Regions from separate parts of the Homo sapiens genome. Here all the other regions are linked to region 1. Evidence: promoter capture Hi-C in 16 types of primary human blood cells and fetal thymus (Javierre and others, 2016). All regions are on one chromosome and are shown on one strand. The core of a region is centred on a gene start or on the middle of the fragment in contact, and the rest is flanking DNA. Distances in the headings are between cores, read along the strand shown.

What was found. The method cuts DNA at HindIII sites, captures the fragments that hold promoters and counts their contacts. A CHiCAGO score of 5 or more calls a contact.
Region 2: a contact is called between a fragment that was not itself captured here and the fragment with the promoter of SDR42E1 in region 1, in 1 of 17 cell types (total B cells). The highest score is 5.1, in total B cells.
Region 3: a contact is called between a fragment that was not itself captured here and the fragment with the promoter of SDR42E1 in region 1, in 1 of 17 cell types (naive B cells). The highest score is 8.1, in naive B cells.

The regions. Positions count from the first base shown.
Region 1 is chr16:82,010,157-82,012,856 of GRCh38, forward strand. It overlaps SDR42E1 (short chain dehydrogenase/reductase family 42E, member 1), which reads right to left and starts at 1,314. Exons shown (of 3, transcript NM_145168.3): 1 at 1,231-1,314. RefSeq lists a silencer at 1,089-1,238 and enhancers at 1,479-1,568, 1,579-1,658. The HindIII fragment of the contact is 9,437 bases long and covers 1-2,700 here.
Region 2 is chr16:81,371,231-81,373,930 of GRCh38, forward strand. All of the region lies in intron 9 of GAN (gigaxonin), which reads left to right. Among named protein-coding and RNA genes, the nearest start is that of MIR4720, 12 kb to the right of the region's middle. The HindIII fragment of the contact is 724 bases long and covers 918-1,641 here.
Region 3 is chr16:81,335,681-81,338,433 of GRCh38, forward strand. The region is part of intron 1 of GAN (gigaxonin); the gene reads left to right. Among named protein-coding and RNA genes, the nearest start is that of GAN, 22 kb to the left of the region's middle. The HindIII fragment of the contact is 635 bases long and covers 1,096-1,730 here.

The DNA of each region.
Region 1 (2,700 bases), core at 64-2,563:
TTTATTAGCAGCATGAGAATGGATTAATACAGGTAGTTTAAAGGTTTAGCATTTAAGCCTCAGGACAATCTTCCGAAGTTGTTACTAGTATTATCATCAGCTTTCAGAAATGAGGAAAATAGATCAGAGGTTAGGAACCTTGCCCACAAATTATGCAGGTCATAAGGGGTTGGGCAGGGTTCAGGACTTGAAGCCGGGTCTGTATGACTCTTAACCACTACATGTAATGCCGCACAATAAGGCTGGGACAATACAGATTCGCTTAGGTCATTATCTTATCACTGTGAAAGGAAAATAAATCTTGGGGTCCCAAGATCACTAAGCTAAAGGGAAAAGTCAAGCTGAGAACTGCTTAGGGCAAACCTGCCTCCCATTCTATTCATGTATCTCTGCTCACTAAAATAAAGGCATATCTGATTGCTTCCTTTGGAGAGGCTAATCAAACTCAAAATAATGCAACCATTTGTCTCTTACCTACCTATGACCTGGAAGCCCCCTCCCCGTTTCGAGTTGTCCCGCCTTTCCAGACCGAAAAACATGTTCATCTTACATCTGTTCTTGTCTCATGTCTCCCTAAAATGTAGAAAACGAAACTGGGCTCTGACCACATTAAGAATACATCGTCAGGACCGCCTGAGGCTGTGTCATGGGTACATGTCTTCAACCTTGGCAAAATAAACTTTCTAAATGAACTGAGACCCGTCTCAGATTTTCAGGGCTCACTCCACCTCCACAATTTCTGTCACATCTGATTCATCTGGTATTATGACTAGCCTATAAGGTTTTGTTTAAACCTACTTACCTTTTCCCAACAAATACATGCAGTTTAAATGGGAACCTGTCACTGCCACTTTTAAGTGGCAAACCAGAACCAAGTGATAAAGAGGAGGTAATCGTTCTCCCAAAGTGTGCAGAAAATCAAAGACAGGAATCAAGTATAGCCAGCCACCTGTGGAAAGTTCGGAGCTTGGGGCCCCGATGTCCTTAAAAACAAAAAATGCGGAGGGCCAGTGTTTGAGGCCTTGGCGACATTCTAGAAAGCCAAGCTGCGCCCGGTCCCCTGGGATCAGGAAGACATCTGAAAGGGGATACTCCTTCCCGCCACCCTGCTCAGTCATTCACCACCGTCCCCCACCCCCGGGACCGCCACCTGTCGCGTTCCAGGCCGAGGCGGTCCAGGGTCCCCGCGGAAGGGCGGCGGCCCCCCAACCCCAGCCCAGGCCCACTCACAGCTGCAGGAACAAGGGCGCGGCAGACGGCTACAGCAGGCAGAGAGGCCCAGGCCTCCTAGCTACCCATCACCACAGCTGGGGCGCCGAAGCCGTCGGACCTGCCTCCTGGAGCCACTTCCGGGCCTCTCTAGGAAGCCTGGAGGTCTCGGAGTCTCTATGACGCGCAGGTGTCTCCTTCACCTTCACCGGCGTTGAGGTAGCAGGAGGTTCGCTTCATGAATTCCCCCACGTTCTCTGGCTGTGCGTTCCGCCGTGGCGGGAACCCTTTTAGGGTCACGTCTTCCCCCACGTCCCCTGTCTGTGCGTTCCGCCGTGGTGGGAACCCTGTTAGGGCCACGTCAACTGCTCTTCCCACCTCCAGTGTCTGCTTTTAGACTTTCACCTCCATCTTTGTTTATCCCCAAGGCCAAGACCAGTGCCTGATAAATAGGCACTCAGGTCAGCATTGCTTGGGTGGATGGATGATGGAAAAGGCTCTATAGGGAGGCAGAATATTCACTCTCCATGTATCTCTTTAAGTTTCTATTATCTCTGAGTTTCCATATCTATGTGTGCCCATAGGTTTTCCTGTGTCCCTAATTTTCCTTATTTCTCTTTGTTCTGGTCGCCAAGCAGGCAGTGATGCCAAGACTAATCTTTGTTGCTGAAGGAACCAAGGAATGCAGAAAGGAAAGTTGGCATCCTCACTCAGAGGTCTCCTTTTGAGGCCCATCTTTTGTCTCCTCATCATGAGTGTGGTTCTGTGGATGGTTGCAGACTGTACACGTGTATGGACATGCATCCTGGAATGGACCCCTGGCTGGGGAGGATTTCATTTTAGTGTCTTGGAGGATGGAAGTTTTGACTTCATGTGGTGCTCTTGCCGATAGATCTGGTACCAAAGGCAGACTCAGAGAGGTTCATATCAATTGCCTGATTTACTGCTCAGTTTTCACTAAGCACACACAGTCACAAGGACAAAGCTCAAGTCCTAGGATATAAAAATTAATGAAGCCCAGGTGAAGAAATCAAGAAGTGCCAGTCCCTGGCACTGGCCTCTCTCATAGGATGCTCTGGCTTTCCTGCCTGTCTTGTCCTCACCTATTAGGCAGGCATAAGTCACAGGAGACTTCTTGTGCTAAGCAGTCTTAAAGAACAGCTTTGCAGTGGCTGCTTAGGATACATAAAAATTAGAAGAGAAGAGGAAGGGTATTCAGGGGGCTGAGAGACCAGCTATATGCTCTTGAGGCCAGCAGCTAAGGAAGAAAAGACCCACTGAGGATGCAGTAAAGAAGACAGACTTCCTTTGGGGAATTACAGGATCCTCTGAGGGATACCCAGATTTAGAGTGTGTGGATAAACATGAGAAATGGTGAATTTAAATGTTAGTATTCTTGTGCCACCGAGGACTCTTTTAAAATATAATCAGGCGTGTTTTAAAGGAAAATTACAAACTCTATAATTGCTTCCTTAGCTTCCATCATAATTT
Region 2 (2,700 bases), core at 30-2,529, 640 kb before region 1:
CTTACTGAGCATCACTGTGGTAGTTGTGTTCAAGTCCTTGCCTGTTAATTCCAGTATCTGAGTCATCTCAAGAGTTGGCGTCTATTGATTGTTTGCTCCCTTGAGAAATGGGTTCTAATTTTTCTGGCTCTTCTTCTGTTGAGGAGTTCTGGACTGAATCCTGGATATGGTTACTATTATGTTTTTGAAGCTTTGAATTTTCTTATATTGCTTTAGAGTGTTGCTCTGAGTTTTAGTCAGCAATTGACTTGGTTAGACTTAAATTGCAAGCTGTGCCACCTGCCATGGGTGGCAGCTGAAATCTCAGTCCAGTTCTCGAAGCCTCGGTCATAAGCATAGATGGTTCCAGGGTTAGTTGAAGACTTGAGATGAGTGGATGCGCACAAATTGAGGGGTGCTTCTCTACCTCTCCTCTTTCTCAGGTTCTCCACCACACTTTGGAGATCCTGGTTGCCCCAAGACCCCTTTTCCTGATTGCTGAGTCCTGTAGCCAGAAAGATGGCCATATTTTCTCTAGGGGTTTAGCTATCCAGAGCTGCCCCAGTGAGGCTGCCTTCAGAGAAAGCTACCAAGAAACAGGAAACTTAGTCCATATGGGTTGCTTGCTCAATTAACTTTCCATTTCTTTCCAGAATCTACCTGCTTTTCTTCAGTTTCCAGAGTGCTCAGGTAGTTGTAGTTTGTCCAGAGTTTACGGCTGACACTTGGAGCAACTGAGGAGCCATTTGTTAAGAGTTACTTCTGCCATACTGGAAGCAGACGCCTCACTACAGCTCTCTTTTTCTTTCCTCCTCTCCTTTCTCCTCAATTGATTGCCCTCTTTTCCTCTATAGCTCTCTTCCTCTCTCCTTTCCTGTCATTCCCCTTCTACTTCCCTGTCTCTGAAGTTCACTGTTGTAATCCATGCTGTATTTTAAAGCTTCAGACTCAGGGCAGTCTTAATTCTGAGTTACCAGAGGGTGCATCATTATAGCCCCCATGTACTGACAAGCCCGTTTGAAAACATTATAACTGAAGACATGATATTGCCTTGTTCATTGCAAAAATTAGTATCGTTTAATGATACCTTGTAAGTACTAGAAACTATGCAAAATACTTTACATTGATATTCATTTCATCCTCACAACAGTCATTTGAGGTTGTTGATGGTATCTGGTATCTCACTCGACAGATGAGGAAGCAGGCTAGGATAGCTAAATTGTTCAGGGTCGGTGAGATGATAAATGACATGTAAAACCTCATGGCCTTTTATACCTGTTTTATAAGCAGCAACACCTGAAGATGTGATTCAGTTAAATTTTCAAATTAGTTCTGTTTCATTTGAAGCCTTGTCTTTACCTAAAATAGATCACCTACGCGTATTTTTCTGAAACCCAGGAACTGAATCATTGATGTGCTTGGGACAAAACCTGGTAGATCATCTATGTAGTCCAGTTTCTTAGGTTAATACAGTCATTCCGGGGATGAACTATGTTGGTTGGTTTCATTCAGAATCTGGGAAGAACTTAAATGCCGAGATGTAGTTATTTATGTTTAGGCCTGAAGACGTGAAATGTGAATAAACCAGTATTGTAGTTTGATGTTTTTCAAACATTATCTTTCAAAGGTGTGTTCAGGGCCTCCATTTTCACTTTCAGCACAAGCTTTTAGATTTTTCCCTTTTCCATTTTATTGGAGGCATTTGGGAGGCAGGGGCCAAAATCTGTATCCCAGTCCCAGCAGACTACCTGACACCCATCAACATTCAGATGTTAGTTGAATCAAATGTAGATGAACGGCTTTAGAAACATGGTGCTTAGCTTTGTTTCTGAGTTGTTCTGTGGTCATTAGACTTTTGTGTTTATTGGAATTCAAAATGTGGAAGCCACCTGCCTTAGAAGAGTCTAGGAAGAGTATTCATTGAAATAAAAATGGTGTTCTTCAGGAAATAATTGTACATTTCTCTTTGACATTGAGATGCCCTGGCTGCTTCACAGCATAGAGTAGGGATGATGGAGTGATGACCATATGACTGTGTGCTCCAGTGAGGGTAGGCCTGGACCTTGGTAACTCTTAAGACCATTTAGATGCATTCCCAAGGTCCTCCTGAAGTCCACTGTGACCTGGCTATGCCTGTTAGCTATTAACAGACAATTGTTCATTTACATTACCCTGAGGGAACATTATTATTACATAGCAGGGTCTAGATTTACTCTTTAAGAAAAAGAAATAAAAAACTTTTATTTTGGAATAATACTGTAGACTTGTAGAAAAGTTGCAGAAATAGTTAAAGAGTTCCCATTTCCATAAGCCATTCAATCAGCTTCTCCTAGTGTTAACATCTTACATGACCGTAGTACAAGCATCAAAACCAGGATATTTATGTTGTCCAAAATTATTAAGTAAACTACAGACTTACTGGAGTTTCACCAGCTTTTACTCTAATGTCTTTTTTCTCGGTTTCCAGATCCAATCCAGGATTCTACCTTGCATTCAGATACTGTGTTTGCTTAGACTCCTTTAATCTGTGATAGTTCTTCATTCTTTTTTTTGAGACAGAGTCTTGCTCTGTCAGCAGGCTGGAGTGCAATGGCGCGATCTCAGCTCACTGCAACCTCCGCCTCCTGGGTTCAAGTGATTCTCCTGCCTCAGCCTCCCAAGTAGCTGGGACTACAGGCACGTGCCACCATGCCCAGCTAATTTTTGTATCTTTAGTAGAGA
Region 3 (2,753 bases), core at 163-2,662, 670 kb before region 1:
AGGTTGCAGTGAGCCAAGATCACGACACTGCGCTCCAGCCTGGGCAACTGAATGAGACTCAGTCTCAAAAAAAAAAAAAAAAAAAATCCATTCAAATGATGAGTCATTCTAAGATCTGTGTGAGGAAAAAAGTTTTTTTGGTGAGTAAAAACCGTAATCTAGGTAAAAAGAATTGGTGGCAGAGAGAAATGAATAGAGAAAAATTAAAAGGAAATAGTGAAGAGTCCAGCTCTGAGCTCAGTGAGAGGAGGTGGGTGCCCCATGCGGGTTCCTGCCCTTCCCCTGCCTTATGCCCTTTGCTCTCAGTGCACCAGTGTGAGGCTGATGGTGGTTCCCAGGCAGGTCACCAAGACCATCCTGTGTCTTGTTGCTGTCTCCTACCCTCAGCACTCCTCTAACATGTCTTCCGACAGGACAAATCCTGTAGGAAGAGCACCTTGGTGTTAGCCTGTGTAGCTCATGGAGCTGTATGGAGGGCAGCTCACCTGTAGGCCCCTGGCACCCAGTCCACACCCCACTACCTGCTGAGGAGCTTCCTTGGGTTTCCCTCTGAGACCTCTGGTTGTGTCTCAGACGTCTGTGGAAATGCTCTTCTTCCATGTAGATGGAATTCTTGGATGGCAGGAACTGTGAGATAGAGGGGTTGGTATTTTTCCACCCACAAAAGTGGGCTGTAAAAGGCTTGTGTGAGACAAGGCCATCTGTTGATGGAAACATTAACTGCAAATTGATATTTCATTTAAGTTGAATGGGTACTAAAAACATCCTTTTATTTTTTATTTTTATGTATTTATTTATTTTGAGATAGGGTCTCACTCTGTTGCCCAGGCTGAAGTGCAGTGGCATGAGCACAGCTCACTGTAGCCTCGACCTACTGGGCTCAAGCGATCCTCCCACCTCAGCCTCTTAATTAGCTAGGACCACAGGTGTGCACACCACCCCAGTTGGCTAATTTTTTTTTTTTTTTTAATTTTCTTTGTAGAGAGGAGGTCTCACTCTGTTGTCCAGGCTGGTCTCAAACTCCTAGGCTCAAGTGATTCTCCCACCTCGGCCTCCAAAAGTGTTGGGATTGTAGGTGTGAGCCACCATGCCAGAAGCTTTATTTTTTAGAGCAACTTTACATTCACAGCAAAACTGAGAGGAAAGTACAAATATATCCCCTTTCCCCCATCCCTACCCATGCACAGCCTCCCCCATTATCAGTATACCACACGAGGGTGGTATACATTTGTTACAATTCCTGAACCTACATTGGCACATCATTGTCACTCAAAGATTGTAGTTGACGTCAGGGTTCACTCTTGGTGGTGTGCCTTCTATGGGTTTGGACAAATGTGTCATGACATGGATCCACTATTACAGTATCACCCAGAGTAGTTTCACTGCCCTAAAAATCCTCTTCCCTGAAGGTCTATTTTTGATGTGCTTTCAGGAGCTCCTGAAGACAAAAAAGCAGTTGGAGGGCATCTGTGAAACAAATTCCCTACAGGAATGTGAATTATTAGTTTGGCATAAGCAGGTAAATGAAGAGGCTACACAGGCCCCTCTTCAAATATCTCAGGGTCCGTTCCTGATAGCTACACAATCCAAGGTGACATGATGACATGATTCATTCGAAATCATGAGTAATGCCCATGAATCACCCCCAAATTTCTGCAAATCTCGACTTCGTGAACATTACATTCTCTTGCATTCTATTTAAATATGTTTCCTTGCTTTTATTGGAGACAAGCTTTTACATCAGAGGGGAAGAAAAGTCACTTAGACTTATTCTCTATCACTGTTATGTCAAGCCCCATTCAGTCACGTCTAAAATGATTCTTGGAAGACGATGACCAGGCCTATTACCTGGGTGGTTTGTTGTGGCTTTTAGACACAGTGAACTTTTCCAGCATTTTGGAAGCAAGAAGGGGACTATACGTACCCAGTGGATGACTTTGGCTCAATTTTAATTACTTACAAGTTGTAGACCCCTTTCATGGATGTAAAACTTTGAATAATACCATCTTCTTTATTAGCTAGTAGCCAACGACTTTTCTTATGTCCTTTTTTCCATATTGTCAAGAAAAAGTAACGTGAATATTGTTTCACTTCCTGCTCTACTTTAATAGAACAGAAGAACAGAAAAATTTTTTAAAAAGTTTGGCCAAAGGATGGGTGCTTGGGAGAAAAATAAACTTAGACCACATGATGTGCAAGAAGTATATTATAAATCCTTAAGTACTGATTGATTTGGCCAGAGTTAAGCCTCTAGGACTCACTAGGGTAGGTCTCAGGGCTGAGTCTCTGCAGTAATTCTACGTAGCTGGTTTCAGCAGCTCAGTCAAGAAATATTCAGGGATGGAAGAGATTGCAAATCACCTTAATCTCTTCTGTTTACAGATCAGCAGACGGGGCAGAGAGGGGAAATGTCTTGCCCTAGAAACAGAAAACGCGGAACAATGTGACATGCATAGTATTTATATTTGAACACCTGAGATCCATTTTTATAATACTTTCTATTGTTTCTAATTTTTTTTAGAGTGTTATAAAATTGTCAAGGTGATATTTTAAGGTTGCTGCATTTTCTAGGAGAGTTTGTAAATTGACATCATGTAATAATTAAAAAGAATATTAAGACTTCCAAGAAATTTACATGTATGATCCTGTAGCCTCCTGAGGTGGGGACAGAGAACATAGAAAAGGCCTATTGATTCATAGGCTCACTCAAGGAAAAAATGATCAGTTATTAACCCTTTAGCTTAGCTCTTTTT